Linked DNA regions of Homo sapiens: regions 1, 3, 4, 5, 6 and 7 are each linked to region 2. The links are contacts of gene promoters, found by promoter capture Hi-C in blood cells and fetal thymus (Javierre and others, 2016). All regions are on one chromosome and are shown on one strand. The core of a region is centred on a gene start or on the middle of the fragment in contact, and the rest is flanking DNA. Distances in the headings are between cores, read along the strand shown. Region 1 overlaps RAB33A (RAB33A, member RAS oncogene family). Region 2 holds the start of XPNPEP2 (X-prolyl aminopeptidase 2). Region 3 overlaps BCORL1 (BCL6 corepressor like 1). Region 4 overlaps BCORL1 (BCL6 corepressor like 1). Region 5 overlaps BCORL1 (BCL6 corepressor like 1). Region 6 overlaps ELF4 (E74 like ETS transcription factor 4). Region 7 overlaps AIFM1 (apoptosis inducing factor mitochondria associated 1).

Region 1 (3,435 bases), core at 546-3,045, 440 kb after region 2:
AGGCAATAATAATAATAATAATAACAACTATGTATTGAATAAGCAAAGAGCCCAGGCTAGGCACTTTACATGCATTATCTTATTTACTCCTCACAGCAGCTTTATGAAATCAGCAGTATTGTTATCATTCCCATTTTATAGATAAGGAGACTGAGGCTAAGAGAGATGAAATAACCCAGTGGCACATGGATCTGAGCTTCAGCCTTTGACTCTTGAGCCCAAGCACTTCGCCACCTCACTATCCTACCTTTCCTGTTACAGGGCCACGATTTCAACCCAGATTCAGAGACCATGCCCTTTACCACTGCATTTCACTCTACAGGACAATATTCAGTCCCCTAGATTGGGGGAGTTTGACAGGGGGAGATAGAATGCCAGGCAGCCAGTCTTGCTCTTTCTTCTAGGCCAGGGACTTAGGGTTATAGCCCAAGGCCCCCAGGAGCCTTTCAGATGTCTCCTTCAATTTGTATCCAGGACACACAGAACTCAACTGGGTTTACTTTTTTTTTTTTTTTTTTTTTGAGAGGGAGTTTCACTCTTGTTGCCCAAGCTGGAGTGCAATGGCACGATCTCAGCTCACTGCAACCTCGGCCTCCTGGGTTCAAGCAGTTCTCCTGCCTCAGCCTCCTGAGTAGCTGGGATTATAGGCACCTGCCATGATGCCCAGCTAATTTTTATATTTTTAGTAGAGATGGGGTTTCACCATGTTAGCCAGGCTGGTCTCGAACTCCTGACCTCAGGTGATCCACCTGCCTCGACCTCCCAAAGTGCTGGGATTACAGGCGGGAGCCCTGGGTTTACTTTTTGCACCTTGATTATCTCAACTCAGGTGTGAGATGCAGAAAATGTTCAGAGATAAAAGAGATGTTACAGATTCTGTGATCCAGTGTCCTCCTCTTGCAGATAGGAAACTGAGACTCAGAGAGGGAAAGTGACTTGCCCAAGATCACACAGGGCCAGGCCTAGAACTCATGTCTCCTAATTCCCTTTCTGGTGCTCTTTCCACACATCATGCTGCCTGGCACAAAATCCTCTCTCCAGCCTAGCTCCATGGTCCATCCAACCCACAAGGCCACCTATGACAAGAATCCAGAGGGACATCATAAGAGATAGCTGACAGTCTTTCCTGACATCAGCCTAGGAAGGGTGGAGGCATCCCCCAGCCCCCAAAGGAAGAGTGGAGCTTCCCTTAATGACTATGATGTGTCTGTCACCTACAGATGTAGCTAAATTTATTGAGTCTGTCTCCTAAATGCATTGGAAAATGCCGAATAGGGGTGTGTGTGTGTGTGTAGAGAGGGAGGGTATGTAGTAGAGGGGAGGCTAAGAAACTAATTTTTGAATCATTCTTTGTATATTTGCATGGAAGCTTCACTTCTGTCTATAATAGTTTGGTTCCTCCCACAGGCTGGGCACTCCCTGTGCCCCAGCCCTGGGGACAAGACAAACTGCAGGTCAGCTGTGGCTATGGGCAGGTACAGCTCAGGACTGTGAGTTTCTGTTCCTCTACTGATCACTGGGGGAAAAAAAATACCTTCCTGTGTTACATTATCAAGTGGATGGAGGCTGAGCTAAGTGTTCCTTGGAAGCTGCCTGCAGTCAGAATGACATCATTTCTTCCTTAGGGCTTCTGAGCTTCTATCTTCTGCCAGTTAACTTAATGGTTAATTATCCATCAGTGTAAGTTTCTCTGTCTCCCTTGCTGCTTCTTTCTGTGTGTGAGTTTCTCTTTGTCTCTGTCCTCCTTTGCCATTCTCTGTGTCAGCTTTGTGTGTGGATCTTAGATGCAGATGGGACAGTCCAGCTAGTTGAAAACAGGTTTCTTTTAAACTTTTCCCATCATCCACTGGGGCATGCTCCAGAGGTTACAGATGTATTTGTCTCCTTTTTTTGCACTTCTACCCTCCCCCATCGGCCTCCAACAAAAGCACATTCATGCCTCATCTATAGAAAGATGCCAGTTAATGTTTCCTAGGGAAAAGAAATCCCCCTGTCAGCTAAGAGCACATGCAGGGGGTTGGGGGCTTGCTGAAGCTCGCCCAGAAAATAGTTCAAAAGGTTAGATATCTCTTTGGCAGTTCCCCATGCTGTGCCCCTCCATCCTCCTCCAGCACCCCATCAGTTCGGGCCTGCCCCCGGCCACCCATGGCATGTTGCCAGTATTCCTCTCTCCACCCCCTCCCCACTGGATGGCCTTTAGCTCTGTCTCACCTTCGAGAAGCCAAGCTTTCTGTGATTTCCAGGATGAGAGACCAATGGACCCAAGGAACCATACCAACAGGAGAGGGCTTGATGGCCTTTCTGAGACCAGAGCAACAACTAATATTTGCAGAGTGCTTGACATTTTCCAAAAGTCCTTTCTCATGTGTTATTTCACTGGATCATCCCAGCAACCATAGGAGGATCAAGGTCCCATTGCAGAGATGAGAAAAACAAGGCTCAGTTCAGGGAGGTTAAAAGACTTGTCTGGCATTTACTCAGCTTCTGAGCAGAAGAGCTGGGATGCTTGCTGCCTTTCCAACAGTGCTTGCTCAAGTTGTTGCCCATCTAGACTTAATGGTGGAGGTTTCAGGCCATGAAAGAAGGGAGAGTGTATATTAGGCACTGGGTCACATACTTACAAGGACTACTAATCCTCATAGCATCCCTACCTGATTACTATTGTTATCATCACTTTCCAGATGAGGACACTGAAGTCAGAGAAAGTAACTTACCTAAGGACACCTAACTTATCTAAGGACACCTAACAAGTCATGTACTAACATGACTTGGGCCGAGATCTGCACCCAAGTTGATTTGACTCCACTATACCCCATTGGCCATCTGACAGAAACAAGGATCTGGGGTACATGTATGTGGCTGTGGCTAAGAGGCAGTCTTCACCCCCATCCACTGTATGGATATGGTGCCCACAGGAAAGGAGGAAAGGGTGAGAGGAGAGGCAGCTGCGAAAGAGGAAGGAGATGCTTTCACTGCTTGGCAGGGGCCAGGGGTTTATGAAGATGCTGAGAAAGGAACACCTAACTCTCAAACAAAATGAGATCACTGCTAGGTAAGGTGGCTTGCCAGCACTTTGGGAGGCCGAGGCAGGATGATTGCTTGAGCCCAGGAGATCCAGACCAGCCTGGGCAACATAAGGAGGACCCCATCTCTATGAAATAAAAAAAATATGAAAATTAGTTGGGTGTGCTGGTGCGTGCCTGTAGTCCCAGTTACTCCGAAGGCTGAAGAGGGAGGATTGCTTGCGCCTAGGAGGTTGAGGCTGCAGTGAGCCATGATTGCACTGCTGCACTCCAGCCTGGGTGACACAATGAGATCTTGTCTGGAAAAGAGAGAGAGAGAGAGAGAGAAAGAGACCAGGCGTGGTGGCTCACACCTAGAGTCCCAGCACTTTGGGAGGCCCAGGTGGGCAGATCACTTGAGCCTAGGAATTTG
Region 2 (3,221 bases), core at 462-2,961:
GCAGCAAACAGAGGAGGCAGGAGTCTTTGAGGGGGCATTTTCCAGTGCTCTGGTCTCTGGGAATAATTTCATTACCAGTCCTGGAAGGGGTGGGAGAGAGGAGCCTGGGGAAAAGGCTGCGGGAGCTTCAGCAGTTATTGAATGACAGCATTCTCATGTTCTCCTTGTCCCTGGTCTGTCCTCTGAGGCTGTGGGCTCCTGCCCTCTGCTTTTATTCCTGAGAATGAAGTTCACTGGGCCACCTCACTCATTTTGACTCTGCCCCTTCAGAGACTCCCATGAAGGTCCGTTTTCCCTCTTCAAAATGGCCTATTTTGTCATTCTTGAATGGATGGTTGAAAGTTGCTTTACACTTGATGTGGACATAAGCAGACTGTAAATCCATTAAAAATAGAAACAAAAGGAATGGTGGCCAGGCATGGTGACACGCACCTGTGGTCTCAGCTACTCAGAAGGCTGAGGCTGGAGAATCACTTGAGCCCGGGAGGCTGAGGTTGCAGTGAACCGAGAACATGCCACTGCACTCCACCCTGGGCAACAGAATAAGACCCTGTTTCAAAAATAAAAATAGAAACAAAAGGAATGGGCAGTTTGCCTCTGGGGCCCTCCAGGCTAGGTGAGCATCCATCCCCATTGGGTCTGTTTGTCTCTCTAAAGCATTCCTCTCTGGGAAATCACCTTCCTCGAACCCAAAGAGCAAGGGTTCTGTAGAGCATTTACTAGGAGCTGCCTTGAAGCTGCCCTCTGATTCAGCTGGGCGTGAAGACAAGGCAGGCCTCAGCTTCTCCATTTCCCTCATTGGGAGTTGTGTTGTTTACGAGTGACTCACACTTCAGGGTAACCAAATCCCTGTTCTAGAAGCTACAGCAGAAACAGCATTTCCAGTTCACCAAATTAGTCTTCTCAGAGCGCCCAAACTCCCCTTTCTGTGTCTTCTTCCCTATTCAGTGGCATCCCCCAAACCCTCCAGATAGGGGCATCTTTGGGCTTTCATTTCCTCCCAGGTGTGAGTGGCTCTAACAGCCTCGGTTCCCCAGAGTGCAGGTTCAGAAAATGCAGGGGAATGGGACTCCCCAGATCCCAAGGGAAGAGCTGGCATCACTTCTTCAGAGTGGGCACTCCTGGGGGGACTCATCCCAGCTCAAGAAAGTAACTCTCCAGTCACAACCAACTTTCCCAAGGGGTACAGTGGGACTTGCCAAGCACTACAAGAAGAGAGGACACTGGCTTTTCCAGTCAGCTTGGAGGAAGAGAGGGAGGAAAAAAGGAGGGGGAGGAAGAGCAAAAAGGAGGAGGAGGAGGAAATGGACAAGGAGGAAAAAAAAAAAAAGGAGGAGGATGAGGAGGGAAAAGGAGGAAGAAGAAGAGGAAGTGGAGGAGCCCAGAAAAGGAGGGGAAGGAGGAAAAAGGAGGAGGAGAAGGAAAACGAGGAGGAAGAAGAGGTGGGGAGGAAAAGGAGCAGCAGCAGGAGGCAAATCTCCATCCCCACAGCAAAAGCAGTGCTGGAGCCAGAGCCCAGAGTGTGGGAGCTAATGGGAATCAGCTTGCTGGAGGGAAGGGGACCGAATTAAGGAATGGCTGGGGCTCTGCCGCTGAGAGGGGGCTGGGAAAAGCAGGCTGATTGAGACCAGCTGTTGTGCCTCTGTCTCTGAGATCTTTGGACTCTGCCCAGGATAGCCTCACACCCTATCCTACACGACTAGGAACTTGCACAGTCCGCCTCGGGCAGCCCAAAGCTCCTCTGCCCACCCTGGCTCCCAGAGCCCTCCAAAACAAAAGACCAGAGAAGCACTCTCCACCCAGCAGCCAGACGCCTCCTTCTTGACGCCAGCCCCCACCCTCTGTCTGCTCGAGCCCAGGAAAGGCCTGAAGGAAGAGGCCGGGGAAAGAGCCCTCCCTCTCTCCCTTGTCCCTCCATCCACCCAGCGCCGGCATCTGGAGACCCTATGGCCCGGGCTCACTGGGGCTGCTGCCCCTGGCTGGTCCTCCTCTGTGGTATGTGCATCCTAGCTTCCACTGGAAGGCAGCTCTGACCTCTCCCCTCTGAGCTCAGAAAGGGTTGGAGTGAGGGTTGGGGCCCGAGTCTCTTTTTCTGTTGCTTCCTCTCTCTGACTTGAGGAAGAGACACCTCAGGGCCAGTGTTGGGGGCCCTCATAACTTGGATCGAGTCTGGTTTGGCACCTTTCCATTCCCCCCGTTATAGAAAAAAAATATTCTGACACTCGTTAAAACGGTAAGGAAAACTTAATTTAAGACTACCGCATTGCAATAGAGGAGAGAAATGGGGCTCAACTCTGATTACAGAAAAGACTTCCAGGGATCTGTAGCCAAGGAGCAGAGTGAGGGGGTCAGTGGATGGAAAAGTATTAAGAGGAGATAGCAAGGGTAGGGGGATTCTTGCTAAACCGACTGAACAGCATTCTTGCTGACGGCAGGCCAGAGTGATCAGATATCAAGGGTGTCTAAACTGACTTAGCAAGATTCTTGCTAAGACTGGGTGATGCAAGCCTGGCAAGGGCAGGACAGACACAGAAGGCCAAGGTCAAGGCCAAGTGGAGAAGAGGCTTTGGGGGAGCCTAACTAAACTTTGGTCAGGAAGAGAGTCTTTCCTCTTTGTCATTCCTGCGGCACCCTCTCTGTCCTCAACTAGGTGCCCAGCCCAGCGCTCCCACCCTAGCCTTCCTTTCTTTGTTGTCTGTCAGCAGGGCCTGATCAGTCACTCAATGTCCAGTTCCTGAGCACCTACCCAGTGCCAGGCCTTGTGCCAGGGACCACAGAGTCATTCAGCTGCAGAGCCTGCTCTTGGGAGCCACAGCCCTGGCCTCAGAGAACAGCATATTCTGGTGTCCAGAGAGACATAAGTTGGCTGTGTCCTCATTCTTATGTTAGCATATCAGTGCCAACATTTTGCCAGGGATCTGTTTCTACAGAAATGGGTGTTTGTTTTCTTAAATGAACAGTATGGGTCGCATCTGATCCTTGAGTTTATGAGACCAAGATAAAATCACACAGGACGTTCATGGTGTTGAACCCCAGCCACCCTCCTTGCATCTGTAGCTCAGCCCACTCGAAAGTGTGGCTGGGCGTGGTGGCTCATGCCTGTAATCCCAGCTCTTTGGGAGGCCATGGCAGGCGGATCACTTGAGGTCAGGAGTTCGAGACCAGCCTGGCCAACATGGTGAAACACTGTCTCTATTAAAATTACAAAAATTAGCCAGGCA
Region 3 (3,637 bases), core at 636-3,135, 260 kb after region 2:
AAAATGTCTGTCTTCAGTGCTTCCCCACAGTGTTTCAGTTTGGCCCATGATGGTGAAATATTTCAGGTTCCCCTATTTCATTTTTTTTCCTTTTGGTTATTGCATGCGATGGGCTTTTCTTTTATGCCTATCACACCTGCCCTTGTCTTCTAGTGTGTTCTATTTGGATTGTTTTAAAGATCTCTGCTTCATTATGGTTTCTCTTCCACTACCCGCTCGCCCTCAGCTTAGCTGCTATTTTTCACCATTTTAAAGTTATTGCGGCCAGGCACGGTGGCTCACTCCTGTAATCCCAGTACTTTTGGAAGCCAAGGTGGGCGGATCGGAAGGTCAGGAGTTCGAGACGAGCCTGGCCAACATGGTGAAACCCCGTCTCTACTAAAAATACAAAAATTAGCCGGGCATGGTGGCCCATGCCTGTAATCCCAGCTACTCAGGAGGCTGAGACAGGAGAATCGCTTGAACCCAGGAGGCGGAGGTTGCAGTGAGCCAACATCGCGCCATTGCACTCCAGCCTTGGTGACAGAGCGAGACTCCGACTCACCAAAAAAAAAAAAAAAAAAAAAAAGTTATTGCTCTCTCATTAGTTCCTTTTCTTTTTGGTTTCCCCTGTTCTGTAGTGTGGTGATTGTCTCTGGCTACCTACTCTTGGCTGCCCACCTGTTGGATTCATTTCCTGGGATCTTGGGTAGGCCTTTTACTTCTCTGTGCATGTGCCTCCTAAATTGAAGTTTTACATATATATATATATATATATGTATTTTTTTTTCCCAGCCACACTTATGGCTTTGGATTGGCAGAGCACGTGCTCTCCTTTGTCCTCACCATGAGTTGGATATATCTTTTGAGTTTTTTCCCCCAAAGTAGGGATAGCTCACAGTGGTTCCTCTGCCTTCCAGGCAGTGACCAGGGTTGATTCTTGGGCCATGCAGCTGTTCATTTCTTTAACAATTACATGGTTGTGACATCTGGGAAAATCCTTTGAGGTATTTCATATCCTTGTGCCTGTGCTTCCTGGGTCATTTGGGATTACCAGGTTTCTTCCAAGTTCCTTTTTGGAACTTTGCTTTTGATGTGATGATTTCCATCAGAGAGAGGGAGAGTAGGCGGGGTGGTGGGGGGAGGTGGGAAGGGAGAACACATGAGTACCGGTGCTTCAAGCAAAAGCAAGCCAGCATACAAGTGTGTAAACCAGCAGCGCTTACGAAGTGTGGCATGCCTGCAAGGCTTTTCCTTTTTGCTCACCTCTCCTGGGATACTAATTTGATTGGCTATAATATAATAAAACAAACCCCTAGGCCTACTGAATCAGAATCTCCAGGACTGAGACCTAGGAATCTGTATTTTGAACAAGCTCCTCGGTGATTCTGGCTGGGGAAACATTGGTTGACATTGACCGTCCTGACTCCTCCCTTCTGTGAGCATTCACGCAGTCAGGAGTCTGTTCTCTAGGGCCGCTTTAGAGGTTCCCTTTGCTTTCCCTCTGGCTGGGGAAGACCAATCTTGCCTTCTTGTATAGACCATGTAGCTCAGTGTCAGTGTTCTCCTGCCTGTGTTTTATCCCTCCCCTCCTCTCCTCTCATCTGCAGAGGCTACTGTTAATTAGCAACAGTGGGCTTCAGATAGGAAGTGGCGCTCCTGGGACAAAATCATGATAGAAAATTGAGAGGCAAAGATTTAAGTGGATGCTCCATCTTGAGGATCTTGTGAAAATGGAGTTATCCAGAATCAGCGTTGCTCTCTACGTGGTCATAACATGTGTATTATATAGTAATTATTTTGATATTTTAACTCGGTTTTATTTTTTGTGGTTTTTTTTTTTTTTTTGCCTGAAAGCTCTTTATCTAGGTGATGTTGTATGATGTTCTGTTTCCAAATGCCAGTGTTCCCCCTCTGATTTCTGTCCCAGACCCTACATACTACTAATCCTAATCCTCTCTAAATAGAGCAATACGAAACCTGAGAGTGAAAAATCTAGTGTCACTAATACCTGCTGCCTATAGATATTTAGTAGCAACTAAAACTTGTACTTTGTGTTGAAACACATCTTTTTTTTTTTTTTTTTTTTTTTTTTTTTGAGATAGGGTCTCCCTCTGTTGCCCAGGCTGGAGTGCAGTGGCGCCATCTCGGCTCACTGCAACCTCTGCCTCCCGGGCTCAAGCAGTTCTCCCACCTCAGCTTCCCAAGTAGCAGGGACCACAGGTTTGCACAGCCACACACGGCTATTTTTTTGTATTTTGTAGACATGGGGCTTTGCCATGTTGCCCAGGCTGATCTTGAACTCCTGAGCTCAAGTGATCCACCTGCCTTGGCCTCCCAAGGTGCTGGGATTACAGGCGTGATTACAGTGGGATTACAGGCCACTGCTCTGGGCCTGAAATGCATTTTATGGCAAGAACAGCCCCTTCCATTGCTTGAGTCCTCTAATTCTTTTTCCCCCCCCCCAGACAGAGTCTTAACTGTCGCCTAGGCTGGAGTGCAGTGGTGCGATCTTGGCTCACTGCAACCTCTGCCTCCCGGGTTCAAGCAATTTTCCTGCATCAGCCTCCGAGTAGCTGAGATTACAGGTGCCTGCCACCACGCTCGGCTATTTTTTGTATTTTTAGTAGAGATGGGGTTTCACCATGTTGGCCAGGCTGGTCTCGAACTCCTGACCTCAGGTGATCCACCCGTCTCGGCCTCCCAAAGTGCTGGGATTACAGGTGTGAGCCACCATGCCTGGCCGAGTCCTCTAATGCTTAGTAGAGAGAAAAGATGAAATGAGTACCTGGGGTATCAGCCAATAGGCTGAGCTGGTTTTGTTTTTGTTTTTGTTTTAGACAGGATTTTGCTGTCGCCCAGGCTGGAATGCAGTGGCACAATCTCAGCTCACTGCAGCCTTGACCTCCTAGGCTCAGGTGATCCTCCCACCTCAGCCTCCCAAGTAGCTGGGAATACAGGCACCCGCCACCATGCCCGGCTAATTTTTTGTAGAGATGGGGTTTCGCCATGTTGCCCAGGCTGGTCTTGAACTCCTGGACTCAAGCAATCCTCCCAGCTCAACCTCCCAAAGTTCTGGGATTACAGGTGTGAGCCACTGTGCCCAACCAGTGTTGTTGGTTAAAATGGGGATATTCCAAGATATTCTGAGAAACAGTCAAAACTTGATTAACCAGGATGTTCAGGGAACGGGGTCCTTGTTAAAAATATTTCTAAAATTATGCTAACCCACATAACTGTCTTCATAATGTTAAAAGATAATTGTCAGAAAAAAGGTAAAAAATCATGACTCTCGTACAGATACAAAAATGAACACGTGTTAAAGATTTTATTTTACTCATTAATCAACAAGAGAACCAGACAGATGTTATAGCTGGTTCAAACAAAAAGTCAAAAAGCACAAATTTATATGGAGTAAAGGAAATAAATTGCAAATGGAGGCAAAAGTAGTTTTTCTACAGTGGGGAGGAAAGACAATCCAAACTCAATGGGACAAGACAGACTTCGCATATACATCAGTTACCTGCAATTACAGAGATGCAAAATAGCTTGAAGACAATAACCTGAGCTAAAATCAGATAGCCCAGAAGGTTATGCTATAGACAGTGCATAGTTTTTTCATTGGAGTACAAAGGTTTTTCTGTAGTAAGCAAACATG
Region 4 (3,259 bases), core at 233-2,732, 280 kb after region 2:
CCTGCTAGATGTTCTGTTTTACTTGTTTTTGTCTTCGGAAGTAAAAGTTAATGATCTGCATTTGAAAGAGCCAGCTAAGAATGATATTCAGAAATAAATAGGACATGTTCAAATGTATGTGCATTTGACTTTATTCCCCCTGACTTAAAATAGTTTTTCTCCAGCCGTACCTGAAGGTTAGTTTTTAAGCAGTAGTTCCTCATCTTCCTCTTTCCAACCAATGCTTTCCTCCTCCTAACACTTTGGTTTGTAGGAACTGGCAGCAAGCCAAGGGGGAAACTGAACTTGAATTTTTAGCTCAGGCCTCTGCTGAAAATAAGAAGCAGGAAGAGTTCATGGGATAGGAGGAGTCCTGGAATTTGATGGGTAGTGGTGACTCCCTGTCCCTGGAGAATTAGGAGGCCCCAGCCCCCGAAAATGTTCCATCAGTAAGGTATGTGCCATCCCCTTAGCTGGAGGTACACCACGATAACCTTCTAGCAGGCGAGGCATGGGTCAGCTTAGGGGAAAAACAGCTCAAGCAAGTTTAACCCTTCCTTTCCTCCTCGGACCTGCTTTTATTGTTCCAACGTTTTGCTTATTCTGCACTCCCTGCATACTAGAATACTGGAAATCCCTACATTGCCCTATTTCTTGTTTAGTGGCACAGAGAGACCTCAAAGCTCGTGAGAATACGTGACTGTTAGGCTGAGAGTGTCCTTGCAGTGTGTGAGCACAGCCATTGTGCCTCTTAGATGTGCCAGGCAGTGGGCGTGGGAGAAGCTGAGCTGAAGCAGCCGAGGAAGTGATTCAGGGAAGATAGGTAGCGAGAGCTGATGCCCAGAGGCCCGGGCTGGGGGCCAGGACCCCCGGGTCCTAGTCCCAATTCTGGGTCTTTCTCACTGCAAGCACAAATGTGCTAACTTGCGGGTTGGCCTGGTAAGTGGCAGTCCCTGAGCCAGTGGACACATGGGATTGTGTGTTACCCTGGACAAGTCATTCAACCCTTTGTCTTGGAGCCTCCGTTTTCTTATCTGTTCAGTGGGGATAATATTAGCTTCTCCTCCCAGGGTTGTGGGGAGGATAAAATCCAATAATAGAGATGAGAGCATTTGGAAAGGCTGAAAGTGCTACAGAGTATAAAGTGGCATTATGAATAATGCTTGGGCCTTTTCACTGGGTTTTATAAATATGAGGATATTTGAATTGCTCCTGTGTCATGTTTTTCTTCTTGCCTTAGTTGAATCTATTTTCTGGTATTAATTTACACGTGAAAAGAGACAATTTTTCTTGAGTTGGCCTGTACTGAGAATTATTTTCAGTTGTTGGTGCAATACCATTCACAGTGAAGTTATTTGAACAATGTAGTCTCCCAACTTGCAGAAGAGGCATTTTGTTTAATGCCGGTCTCTCCATTGGTGTTTGGGTACAGAGAGTATGGGGCCTGACTTTGCACCTTTTAAAATGACTTTGGGTGTTTATTCACTGGCTTTTGAACGCAGACTCTGTAGACCTCTTTAAAGTGATGGGATGTGGACGCCTATGGGGATTAGCTGGGGCCCTGGACTCAGTCCAAAAGAGCCCCTGTCACCCACTCTGGAAGGCAGTGCACGGCCCCTTGCCCCTGGTCCCCCACTCTGGGCAGCTCATGCCTCTAGGTCAGAAACGGGACACATGGCTCAACCCCTGGAGAGCTTTCTTAAGAAGCAAAACTGACCTCAGACCTGACCCTCTACCTCTCCACAGTGCCGGAAGCTGCCCAGTGACCCCCAGGAATCCACCAAGAAAAGCCCCAGGGGGGCTTCAGATTCAGGAAAAGAGCACAATGGAGTCAGGGGAAAGCACAAGCACCGGAAGCCGACAAAGCCGGAGTCCCAGTCTCCAGGAAAACGAGCCGACAGCCACGAGGAAGGTAGGCCCCGCGGCCCTGGCCCTCTGGGCTGGGCTGCAGAGGGATCCCCAGGGCACAGTGGTGAGGGCAGAGGGGCTCAGGCGCTGACTCCTTCACTCTGGAAAAGTGAGACTTCTTCACTGTGGAAAGAAGATATGATTGACCCCTCTGAAGTCTAAGGTGAGCGAGCAAGGATCGGGGGCCCCTTCTGCTCCTCCTGGGTGCTAGAATAAGGCTGAAGGAAGTGGTTTTCCGACACAAACACCAGGCCCACAACACAGTAGCCGACCCATTTCCCCGCGATGGGTCTAGGCTCAAAGAAACAAGTTTAAGGAGAATTTAGACAAAAACCACGGAATGGGGGTTCATTACGCTGTCTTCTTTGGGTATACTGGAAAACTGCTATTCTGAAAGGACAAAAATAAATAGCTAGTTAGCTAGGAGAGTTTAGAGAAATCTTAAACGTTTATTATCATTTAGGGACACACAGGATATCTGGGATGACGGGGCTGGTATGTGTCCCTAACCTGTCCGTTTTGCCACTAATAGTTTCTGGGCACCCTTATCAGGGAGAGAATCCCCAGCATTCCTGAGCATAGGAGTCCAGGTTCATGGTCTTGCCCACCTGACGTGACTATGACCTGCCTCTTCTGGTCTGTTCTTTTTTTTTTTGAGACAGAGTCTCACTTTGCTTCCCAGGCTAGAGGGAGTTCAGTGGCACAATATCGGTTCACTGCAGCCTCAACCTCCTGAGCTCAAGTGATCCTCCTACCTCAGCCTCCCGAGTAGCTGGGACCACAGGCATGTGCCATTACACCTGGCTAATGTTTGTAGTTTTGAAGAGATGGGGTTTCACCATGTTTCCCAGGCTGGTCTTGAACTCCTGGGCTCAAGCCATCTCCCTGCCTCAGCCTCCCAAAGTGTTGGGATTACAGGCGTCAGCCACTGCGTCCGGCCTCATCTGTTCTTAGCCGTTTTTTCTCTGTTCACTGGCTCCTTGTTCCTATCTTCCCACCTCACTCAATCCTCCAAGATTCACTGAGGTTGCCCTCCTCTGGGACCTGCTCCAGCTCAGTTAGAACTTTGTTTATTTTCTTTCTTTCTTTCTTTTTTTTTTTTTTTTTTTTTTTTTTTTTGAGATGGAGTCTCACTCTGTCACCCAGGCTGGAGTGCAGTGGCACAATCTTGGCTCACTGCAAACTCTGCATCCCAGGTTCAAGTGATTCTCCTTCCTCAGCCTCCCAAGTATCTGGGACTACAGGTGAGTGCCACCACGCCCGGCGAATTTTTGTATTTTTAGTAGAGTCGGGGTTTCACCATGTTGGCCATGCTGGGCTCGATCTCCTGACCTCAGGTGATCCACCCACCTCGGCCTCCCAAAGTGCTGGG
Region 5 (3,268 bases), core at 699-3,198, 300 kb after region 2:
GTTTGCAATTTCTTCTTGTTTGTGATCAAGTGGATCACAGTGGAACCCCTGGGATGCTTCCCGAAGCTTCATTCTTTACAGCCCTTGCCTGTGGGAACTGTGATGTTCCCTCTGCATCCCAGGGTCCCCCTTCCTTCCGTTCCTTTTCCTCCCTCACCTGCCCCTTCTGTAAAGTGTCTGGTGTTGAGGCCCATGGCAAGGGCCACAAGCCAACATGCATTTATTTTCTCATTAGTGGATAGCAGCTGTTTGTCTGCAGTTAGATAGCTCTACTGAGTTGGGCAGGGGGAGGAGGGAAGGAGGGGAGTCTAGCTTGGGCATGCTCAGTAGGAATCTCCTCAGACTTGACCTCTGAATAAAGGAACCCTGCCTCTTAGTGACATCACAGTTTGGCCCTTGCTCTAGCAGTGACTTCTTCAGACTGCCTGAGCGGCGGAGCAGCTGGGAGTTGTATCTCTGAACCTTCTTGGAGGCTGCAGTGTTTGTATTGTGGTTAGAACCCCTCTCTGGCCAGGAGCCAACAGGACTAAGGATTGGCCCAAAGCTGCTCCCTCTTCTCACCCAGACTTTGGCCCTAGTTAGCCCCGAACCTCTATACCTCCAGATATATGGTTCCAGGCTCCCAACCAGGGGCTCATTTGTTTATCCAACAAAGGTTAACTAAGTAGCTGATGATGGAGGAAGAAACAAAGGGGACCTAACTAAAGGCTCTTATGGAAGGGGAGGACTAGGTAGGCGGTGAGTGGGGGGTAATAGGAGGCTGTCGCGGGAGATCTTGACTCCTGCTCAGCCAGCCTCCACCCAGGTCTCAGCTGAGCTGACTAAACCTTGGAGCACAGGCCTTAGGCCTGTACAGCCTGACTAGCATCTCCCAGGCTGGGGGCAGGATGGCTGCCTTTTCTGTTTTCCCTCCCTCCAGCTCTGGGTTCCCAAGCCCCTGTCCTTGAGGCGCAGAGCAGCCTTGGAATGTTCATTCAGTCATTTGTCCTGGGCCAGTGGTGACTGTTGTTCCCCTTAGCTGAACCATCCCTAGGGGTGCAGGGCTTGGGGCAAGCCACCGTTGGTAGCTGCCTCCCACGTACTGTGTACACATGCACTCTCTCTTAGACACATACACGTGTTATCTGCACTCCACTGGATTCCCAGGAAAATCTGAGACCAACAAGCATCCAGAGCATCTTGATATGACAAAGGCACCACACGCAGCTCTGTCTTTGAGAAACCGGTCTAGTCCCGAGGCCTCCTTAGGCTAGAAACTGCCATCCCGAGGGTCTCAGGGGCTCCTAGATCTAAATAACACTGTGACCACCTTAGTAAACAGATGAACTCTTTGCTTCCCCAATCCCTTCTCCAAAACCCCTAAGGAGTAGGAATGTGGAAACCATTTTAAGTAGTTAAAAAATGGGAAATAGGCCAGGCGCAGTGGCTTATGCCTGTGATCCCAGCACTTTGGGAGGCTCAGGTAGGAGAATTGCTTCCGGCCAGGAGTTTGAGACCAGCCTGGGCAACATACGGAGACCTTGTCTCTACAAAAAAATTTAAAAATTAGCCAGGTATGGTGACTGCACTCCAGCCTGGGCAACAGAGTGAGACAGTGTCTCAAAAAAAAAAAAAAAAAAAAAAGAGACAGAGAGGAGAGAAATAAACACGTTTCTCTTATCTTTCTGTCTCCTCATCCCAACTACTAGCTATCTTTTGGTTTTGTTTTGTTTTTGGCGCGATCTTGGCTCACTGCAACCTCTGCCTCCCGGGTTCAAGCGATTCTCATTCCTCAGCCTCCTGAGTAGCTGGGATTACAGGCATTCGCCACTATGCCCGGCTAATTTTTGAATTTTTAGTAGAGACAGGGTTTTGCCATGTTGGCCAGGCTGGTCTCGAACTTCTGCTAGCCAGCTTTTTGACACCTCCTGAAACTAAATTGAATGCCAGTCTATGTTGCAGAATTCAGAGAAGACTTTTATTTTTTTTAGGCGGAGTCTTGCTCTGTCGCCAAGGCTCGAGTGCAGTGGCGTGATCTCAGCTCACTGCAACCTCCACCTCTCGGGTTCACACCATTCTCCTGCCTCAGCCTCCCAAGGAGCTGGGACTACAGGCACCCGCCACCAAGCTCGGCTAATTTTTGTGTATTTTTAATAGAGACGGGGTTTCACCATGTTAGCCAGGATGGTCTCGATCTCCTGACCTCGTGATCCGCCCGCCTCGGCCTCCCAAAGTGCTGGAATTACAGGCGTGAGCCACCGCGCCCGGCCCCAGAGAAGACTTTTCTTAACTCTAGTACTTCACATATTTGTGGTGTGTGTGTGTATGTACGTATATGTGTTTATATATATTTGAGACAGAGTCTTGCTGTGTTGCCCAGGCTAGAGACTCCAGCACTTCCTAACTTGTCCTGGCTGAGCACCTTTATTTAGATTTGTTAAAAATTACTAGAGACAGTGTCTTGCTCTGTCACCGAGGCTGGAGTGCAGTGGTACAATCATAGCTCAGTGCAGTTTCAAACTCCTGGGCTCAAGCAATCCTCCTGCCTCAGCCTCCCAAGTAGCTAGGACCACGGGTGTGTGCCACCGGTCCCAGCTAATTTTGTATTTTATCTTTTTGTTGAGATACGGGGTTTGCTATGTTGCCCAGGCTGGTCTGGAACTCCTGGGCTCAAGCTATCTTCCCGCCTTGGCCTCCCAAAGTGCTGGAATTACAAGTGTGAGCCACCATGCCCAGTCTTCATTTAGACCTTTTGCTCAATTTATGGGCATGAATCAGGCTTAATAATGGGAGTCAGGAGCCAATGGGTTGCTATAAAGTGCACCAGCTCTTTTCCATGCAAAGGCAGCCTGGGACCTTGGCCTACCACCACAGGAAGGCAGGCACTGGCAGGAGTCAGCAGGCTCTCAAGAAGCAGGGGGCCCTTAGGCCCAAAGGCTGTTTGTAGGGTGTGTGAGAGGACAGCACTCAGGGACTTTTTTAAAAATTGAGGTAAAATTTACCTAACATAATCATTTTAAAGTGAACAATTCGGGCCAGGCGTGGTGGCTCACCCCTGTAATCCCAGCACTTTGGGAGGCCAAGGTGGGTGGATCACTTGAGGTCAGGAACTGGAGACCAGCCTGACCAACATGGTGAAACCCCCTCTCTACTAAAAATACAAAAGTTAGCTGGACCGTGGTGGTGCATGCCTGTAATCCCAGCTACTCGGGAGGCTGAGGCAGGAGAATTGCTTGAACCCAGGAGGTGGAGTTTGCAGTGAGCTGAGATCACACCACTGCACTCCAGC
Region 6 (3,536 bases), core at 1,015-3,514, 370 kb after region 2:
ACATATAGACAATGGTAGTAGACTGATGATAGCTTTTTCAAAAATAGTGCTAGAATAATTAGATATTCATATGCATAAAGAAAAAGAAAAAAAAGGCTGGGTGCAGTGGCTCACGCCTGTAATCCTAGTACTTAGGGAGGCCAAGCTGGGAGGATAGCTTGAGGCCAGGAGTTCAAGATCAGCCTGGGCAACATAGTGAGAACATACCTCTACAAAAAAAAAATTTAAAATTAGCTGGGCATGGTGGCACACTCTTGTGGTCCCAGCTACTTGGAAGGCTAAGGTGGTAGGATTACTTGAGCTCAGGAGGTCAAGGCTGCAATGAACCATAATCATACCACTGCACTCCAGCCTGGGCAACAGAGCAAGACCAAGAAAAAGAAAGAAAGAAGAAAGCAAGAAAGCAAGATAAAGATGAGAGAGAGAGAGAGAGAGAGAGAGAGAGAGAGAAAGAAAGAAAGAAAGAAAGAAAGAAAGAAAGAAAGAGAGAGAAGGAGGGAGGGAGGAAGGAAGGAAGGGAGGGAGGAAGGAAGGAAGGAAGGAAGGAAGGAAAAGAATTTGGATCCATACCACTCAACATACAGAAAAATTAACTCAAAGCAGACCATAGACTAAAATGTAAAGACTAATATTATAAAACCTATAAAAGAAAATATGAGACAAAATATTTGTGAACTAAGGCTAGGGGAAGAGTTCTTCGATACAGCACCAAAACTATGACCCATAAAAAGAAAAGTTGAAAAGTTGCACTTTCATCAAAATTTAAAATGTTTGCTAAAGTCAAAAGACACTGAGAAGGGGATTAAAAGAAGCCACAGACTACGAGAAAGTATTTACAAAGCATGTATCTGATGAAAGTCTTGTATCCAAAAAATATAAAGAACTCTCACAACTCAACTACAAGAAAACAAACAATTCAGTTTAAAAATGGGCAAAAGATTTGAACAGACACCTCAACAAAGAAGACATATGGACAGCAACTATATGAAAAGATGTTCAACATCATCAGTCAATACAAACATCATCAGGAAAATACAAATTAAAATCACAATGAGATACCACTGCACACTTATTAGAATGGCTAATTAGAAGTGGTCATCTAATGAGACAGGTGTTTTCTGTGCATAGATTCTCATAGAATTAGCAGAGCTGAACTAGCCTCTGTTATCCTCAGGGGGCATTATAGGAAAAAGATTAGCTCCTCATTCTATGTCTAAATACCTCCTTGTTATCGGGTCATCAGGAATTTCGGGAGGTTAAGAATAATTGCCACCCTCCCATCCCCCAAAGCCTAGCAGTTCTAACTGAGGGGTGGGGACCAAGGGACTGAGTGGAGTGCTTTACTCAGGGGTGGTCCAGTTTATCCTAGGCTGCCTGTCCCTGCGGGTGGTCACAGGCTCCTCAAGCAAACACAATCCAGTCAATAGCAAATGGAACCTCCAAGTTACTCTCTGGGAGGCCTCTGGAAGGGCACTGGCCCCCAGTCCCCTGGGAGCTCTTCTGGGCAAAGGCAGTGCCCCAGCCTCAACTCAAGGCCTCTGGGCATTGGCCCAGAATGGACCCATCATCTATTCTAGTGAAGGGTGAGAGTGAGTGGTAGTCAGCCAGTTGGCTCCCAGAATTTTACACTCAGTAGGATAATAACAACAATCTGATGATTGCTAAATAGTTCCCAGGAGTACAACGTTAGGCCTCTCAAAGAAACTAACTTACTCTTATTTCTGCAGTGAATGATGCTCAAGATGAAAATGGTGAAGGACTAAAGAAGGCAATGTTAGTACAAATATTAACGATTTGAGTTTTGCTCTTCACTACAGCACTGCCTGCCATTCAGTATATTACACACACACACACACACACACACACACACACACACACACACCTTCTATTACATCCTTTCCCTATCCTGTGCAATGGCCGAGTTAACAAAAAGCAGAAAAACCTGGAAAATCTCCCGCTTAGTTTCAGAAATGGGTGTGGCATGCCCTGCCCGCATTGCCGAAGAAGTAGTTGGTCCCTAGAGCCTGGCAAAGTCAAGGGTGTGTGAAGGGGAAATGGTGACAACAATAATAATAACTGTCACAGGAATAATAATAACAGCAGTGAACACTTACTGGGTGGGTACTATATGCCAGGCACTCTGCTGAGTGCTTTATATGCATCGTCTCATTTAAGCTTCACTCCAACCCTGTGAGATGGGCGCTGACTCCCAGAGTGGTTAAGTAACTAGCTCAACAGCAAATAGTCACACAGCCAGTAAGTTTGGCATATAAATGTAGAGAGCCTGTGCTCTTCCTCCTCTAGACAATAACATGTATTGGGAAGGATATTGGGTCACACTGGAAGAGGAAAGGAAGCTTCAGGAGAGTCAGGTGTTCTGAGAGGCAGGAAGTGCCCACACTGGGCCAAGAAAATGACCCATCAAGAAGGTGGCAACTCGGCTGGGTGCGGTGGCTCATGCCTGTAATCCCAGCACTTTGGGAGGCCAAGACAGGTGGATCACCTGAGGTCAGGGGTTCGAGACCAGGCTGGCCAACATGGTGAAACCCCGTCTTTACTAAAAAATACAAAAAAAAAAGAAAATTAGCTGGGCATGGTGGTAGGTGCTTGTAATCCCAGCTACTTAGGAGGCTGAGGCAGGAGAATTGCTTGAACCCGGGAGATGGAGGTTGCAGTGAGCCAAGATCACACCACTGCACTCCAGCCTGGGCGACAGAGCAAGACTCTGCCTCAAATTAAAAAAAGAAAAGAAGGTGGCAACTCAAGGGAAAGCTTGCTCAGCCTCTACAAGCTGCTCAGCTTGCTTCTTGTTAGCCTCTCTGAGAAATGTTCTGGCACTTTCCCTTGCAGACCTTCCTGCATGAAACACCCTTCCCTGCTCCCTGACCCTCCTCCTCACCCTGGAAGCAGGCTGGGGTCTCTTTGCCGAGAAACTCACCTTAGGGCATGATTTCCCAACCAAGAAGTCAGGGCCCTCTGGTATGTCCCTTTGGTGTTGAAATGTGCTGGGGAGGAGGCAGGGCAGTGAGAGAGGGAAAATGATGAGTGTGTGTATGTGGCAGGGGGATGTCCGGGAGTTTTTTATCCAATTAAACCCAACCAGGGCCAAGCTTCCTCCATGTCCAGCCTTGGGAGACACAGAATCAGTGGAAGCAATATATGGCTAGTCCTTAGCGGTCTGGGCAGAAACACATGAAACTCTACATTCTTCATTTCCCAGATGGTGGAGTGGGGAACAATTATGAAAATCTCTTTCCTCCACCTGAAGCTCTGGGCTTCCAGAGAAATCCCAGAACCCTGGGGAAAAGGTGGGATCCAGCCAGCCTGAGACTGCCATGAGCACAAGTGGCATGTCAGTTTTCCTGTCATTTAAGTGCCCTACGTCTCCCCTGCCATCTCTCCCACTCCCCAGGGGCCTGTGTGTGTGTGTGTGTGTGTGTGTGTGTGTGTGTGTGTGTGTGTGTCTGGTAAGGGAGGGGTTTCAAACGAAATCCCCTCAGCTTGGGTGGCAGGCTGGCCAGCCAGTTTATATCTCC
Region 7 (3,784 bases), core at 1-2,500, 400 kb after region 2:
TTGAGATATAATTCACATCAAATTCACCATTTTAAAGTGTGGAATTCTGTGGATTTCAGTATATTCACAAGGTTGTGCCACCATCACCACTATCTGATTTCAGAACATTTCCATCACCACCCCAAAACTCCAGGTCAATAAGAAGTTGTCAGCCCAGGACAGGCACAGTGACTCATGCCTGTAATCCCAACACTTTGGGAGGCTGAGGCAGGCAGATCACTGAGGCCACGAGTTTGAGACCAGCCTGGCCAACATGGCGAAACCCCGTCTCTACTAAAAATACAAAAATTGGCCAGGTGTGGCGGCATATGCCTGTGGTCCCAGCTACTGGGGAGGCTGAGGCAGGAGAATCGCTTGAACCTGGGAGGCAGAGGTTGCAGTGAGCCGAGATCATGCCACTGCACTCCAGCCTGGGCAACAGAGCAAGATTCTGTCTCAAAAACAAAACAAAACAAAAAAACCCCAAAACCACAACAACAAAAACAAACAAAAACAAAAACAAAAAAAGTTGTCAGCCCAATAAGAAGAATGAGTTCTTGACCTAAAGCGATCCTTAAGAAACCATATCCAAGTAATCATGGGAACCACAGTTTCTGGTACCCAGTTTTTTTAGGCAGTCATATGTTGGAAATTGGCAATGAGAAGGCAGGCAACATTAGAGCAAGTCATGACAGTCCCAAAGCCCTGACCCATGTGTGGAAAAGGAGAATCGGAACAGCCTTTCTTATATGGCTGTTTGGAATTACTTATTATTACTTTATTAATAAGTCTCCTACATCTACAACATTTTTACAGAATGCTTTCTCCAACTTGTAGCCTTCACGGAAACTTGGCTCTCTCTTAAGGAGAGCTTACACATAGAGGCTGTTCGTTCCCCCACACTCCACATCACAAGGCCAGGAGGAGGTGTTGGCATTCTGCAAGCTTCTTGAGGTTACTGGTCTGCTGCTTCCAGATTCTTGTACTTTCATTCTCTTCTGAGGGACATCAGAGGAGTCCTATATTCCTACGAATCACTGTTTTGAGCCACCTCCTGGCTACTCCTCCTGATTCACTGAAGACCTTGGAACCTGGCTCATACTTTTCCTCATCTTGTTATCTCCTAAACCTCTCCTCCTACCTCAATTATTCTACTTGTTGGTCACAATTTTCCATCCCTTCAGCTTTCGCTCAGTCTGTCTCCTATGCTTGCTTTCAATTTTCTCTGTTTATTTGACTAGCTGCTCCATTCTAACTAATTTGGGCCAATGGTAGAACACCCAAACTGTTCTTTTGCCAGTACCTTTAATTCCCTTGCACCCTACTCCTTCTTATGGTTAAGAGCTTGAGCTTTGGAGTCAGAGAGAATAGGGCCCCAGTCTTTGCACCACTCTTTACTAGCTGAGACCATTCAATTAAGCACCTACTATGTATCAAGTTGAGACAGTGATCCTTGCTGCTTTCAGAGTTTAGTGGCCAAGACAATTTAACAAGCACTAACAATAATCAAGAGTGACAAATGTGATGTAAGTGGTAAGAACAGTGCAGGTAGCGCTGGGAACATATGACATGTGCAATCTAGTCAGGTTGGGTTGGGTAAAGCTTTCTAGAGGCAATGACATGAACTGAGATCTGATGGATAAGCAGCTTCTTTAGCCTCCTTTGATTTGTCCTTGGTAAGCTCCCTCTTCAATCCAATCCCGCTACTCAACCCTCACGGTGTTCGCTCTCAGATAACCATCTTATGTTCTATTGTATTGCAAAAACAAATGAAGCCATTAGATGTGATCTTCCATAGCTTCCCATGAGGCATGAGGGCTCCCCACCACCCCCGTCCAGCCTATTAACATGCTTGTCCCATCCAATAGGTCCCACCTTTGATTCTATGTCCTCTTCACGCTTTTATCCGATTGCCATCTCTCTTTTCTCATTTAAATCTTTTGAAAGAGTGCTTTACCCTCTTTTCTAACTTCCCAATGGTATCTGTTTTATTTTATTAATTTTTTGAAATGGAGTCTTGTTCTGTCACCCAGGCTGGAGTGCACTGATGCAATCTTGGCTCACTGCAACCTCCGCCTCCTGGGTTCAAGCGATTCTCGTGCTTCAGCCTCCTGAGTAGCTGGGATTACAGGTGTGCGCCACCACACCTGGCTAATTTTTGTATTTTTAGTAGAGATGTGTTTTCACCATGTTGGCCAGGCTGGTCTCTAACTCCAGACCTCAAGTGATCCACCTGCCTCAGCCTCCCAAAGGTATCTGAACCGCCAAATCTCACAGTGCATTTTACGGTTCTTTTCTTCCCAGATTCCTCTGCCACGGTAACACTGTGGATCACATTCTTTTTCTTGAAACTCCCTACAACCTTGGCTCCTGTCCTCAGGTTTCCTCATACTGCTCTTTAAGTTCTTTCCTAGTCTCCTTTGTGGGTTCTTCTTAAGCCTGCTTCCTAAAAATTGGGGTTCCCCAGGGCTCTATCCTTGCCTTCCTCCTCTTCTCACCAGATCAGTTCTCCCTGGGAGGCTTCACCTACTCTCATGGTTTCAACTTCTACACATATGCAGATGATTCTCAGCTCTCTATCTGAGCCCAAGTCCCCTGGGCGTGGCAGTCATATGTCCAACTGCCCAGAAGACACCTTCACGCAGATATTCCACTTCATACTTAATGGTCCAAAACTGAATTTTATCTTCCCCCTTAAACTAGCTCTTCCTCTTGTAATGTCTTTCTCAGCTGTGGGTACACTGCCATCCACTCAGACATGCAGGCTAGAAATTAGAAAATCATCTTTGCCTCCTCCATCTCCTTCATCTTCTACCTTTAACCAACCACCAAGCCTCATCAAGCATGACTCCTAAGCATGCCTCAAGTGTGTTCCCTACTTCTCATCACCTTTCTATCAAGAAGTAATACTGGCTGGACACGATGGCTCATGCCTGTAATCTCAGCACTTTGGGAAGCCGAGGTGGGTGGATCACCTGAGGTCAGGAGTTCGAGACCAACCTGGCCTACATGGTAAAACCCCATCTCTACTAAAAAGACAAAAAAAAAAAATAGCCAGGCATGGTGGCGCATGCAGCTACTTGGGAGGCTGAGGCAGGAGAATCGCTTGAACCTGGGAGGCAGAGGTTGCAGCGAGCTGAGATCATGCCACCGTACTCCAGCCTGGGCGACAGAGTGAGAATCTGTCTCAAAAAAAAAAAGTACTGTACACTGTACACTGATGTTATTAATAGCTTAGGCTCTGGAATCAGAATAGCTGGGTTCCAATTCTGTGGCTCAGACAGACCCGGGCTCAAATTCTCTCTCTACCACTTACTAGCTATGTGAGTTTAGGCAAATTATTTAAAATTTATTTATTTTTAAAAATTTCAACTTATTTCTCTGTAAGAGGGAAATAATACCTACCTCATAAGATTATTGGGAGGATAAAATGAGATGGTGCACATAAAGCATTTAAGAACTGTGCTTACAAGATTAGAATAGGTACTATACAAATTTTACCTCTTACTTTCTTCTTCTTCTTCATCATCATCATACCACTACTATTCTAATTTGGGCTCTCATCATCTCTTGCCTAGATTATTGCAATAATCTCTGAAATGGTCTCTCTCTAGTCTTGTCTCACTGAAATCCATCCTCCTCACGGCCAATGGTGATTATTTAAAATTCAATTGCCTAAAATGCAACAGCTCCCCAGTGCAGAAAAAGCTCTTTCACGCAAAGCCCTCCACAATCAGGCCCCTTGCATAACTTCTCAGGTTCATCTCTTGCCACTTCCTAACTTGTACCTAACTGCTCTATCAGT

The links. Contacts are between HindIII fragments. The CHiCAGO score rates a contact against its expected background, and 5 or more counts as called.
Region 1: a contact is called between a fragment that was not itself captured here and the fragment with the promoter of XPNPEP2 in region 2, in 4 of 17 cell types (neutrophils, non-activated CD4 T cells, activated CD4 T cells and 1 more). The highest score is 8.2, in neutrophils.
Region 3: a contact is called between a fragment that was not itself captured here and the fragment with the promoter of XPNPEP2 in region 2, in 3 of 17 cell types (activated CD4 T cells, total B cells and M0 macrophages). The highest score is 6.2, in activated CD4 T cells.
Region 4: a fragment that was not itself captured here is called in contact with the fragment with the promoter of XPNPEP2 in region 2 in 4 of 17 cell types (M0 macrophages, neutrophils, activated CD4 T cells and 1 more); the score reaches 8.6 in M0 macrophages.
Region 5: a contact is called between a fragment that was not itself captured here and the fragment with the promoter of XPNPEP2 in region 2, in 9 of 17 cell types (activated CD4 T cells, total B cells, neutrophils and 6 more). The highest score is 12.8, in activated CD4 T cells.
Region 6: a contact is called between a fragment that was not itself captured here and the fragment with the promoter of XPNPEP2 in region 2, in 8 of 17 cell types (non-activated CD4 T cells, activated CD4 T cells, total B cells and 5 more). The highest score is 13.6, in non-activated CD4 T cells.
Region 7: a fragment that was not itself captured here is called in contact with the fragment with the promoter of XPNPEP2 in region 2 in 4 of 17 cell types (activated CD4 T cells, total B cells, non-activated CD4 T cells and 1 more); the score reaches 7.7 in activated CD4 T cells.

Annotation. Positions count from the first base shown.
Region 1 is chrX:130,174,993-130,178,427 of GRCh38, forward strand. All of the region lies in intron 1 of RAB33A (RAB33A, member RAS oncogene family), which reads left to right. Among named protein-coding and RNA genes, the nearest start is that of RAB33A, 4.7 kb to the left of the region's middle. RefSeq lists an enhancer at 1,590-1,659. The HindIII fragment of the contact is 857 bases long and covers 1,368-2,224 here.
Region 2 is chrX:129,737,268-129,740,488 of GRCh38, forward strand. It overlaps XPNPEP2 (X-prolyl aminopeptidase 2), which reads left to right and starts at 1,712. Exons shown (of 21, transcript NM_003399.6): 1 at 1,712-1,995. The coding sequence starts at 1,947. RefSeq lists an enhancer at 942-991. The HindIII fragment of the contact is 11,300 bases long and covers 1-3,221 here.
Region 3 is chrX:129,997,250-130,000,886 of GRCh38, forward strand. The region is part of intron 1 of BCORL1 (BCL6 corepressor like 1); the gene reads left to right. Among named protein-coding and RNA genes, the nearest start is that of BCORL1, 16 kb to the left of the region's middle. The HindIII fragment of the contact is 5,421 bases long and covers 1-3,637 here.
Region 4 is chrX:130,019,260-130,022,518 of GRCh38, forward strand. BCORL1 (BCL6 corepressor like 1) reads left to right here. Exons shown (of 14, transcript NM_001379451.1): 5 at 1,726-1,891. Among named protein-coding and RNA genes, the nearest start is that of BCORL1, 38 kb to the left of the region's middle. The HindIII fragment of the contact is 4,204 bases long and covers 1-3,259 here.
Region 5 is chrX:130,039,678-130,042,945 of GRCh38, forward strand. The region is part of intron 11 of BCORL1 (BCL6 corepressor like 1); the gene reads left to right. Among named protein-coding and RNA genes, the nearest start is that of BCORL1, 59 kb to the left of the region's middle. The HindIII fragment of the contact is 3,769 bases long and covers 65-3,268 here.
Region 6 is chrX:130,102,438-130,105,973 of GRCh38, forward strand. The region is part of intron 1 of ELF4 (E74 like ETS transcription factor 4); the gene reads right to left. Among named protein-coding and RNA genes, the nearest start is that of ELF4, 6.3 kb to the right of the region's middle. RefSeq lists a silencer at 1,157-1,451. The HindIII fragment of the contact is 182 bases long and covers 2,174-2,355 here.
Region 7 is chrX:130,140,679-130,144,462 of GRCh38, forward strand. The region is part of intron 6 of AIFM1 (apoptosis inducing factor mitochondria associated 1); the gene reads right to left. It also overlaps a transcript of RAB33A not described here. Among named protein-coding and RNA genes, the nearest start is that of AIFM1, 23 kb to the right of the region's middle. The HindIII fragment of the contact is 657 bases long and covers 923-1,579 here.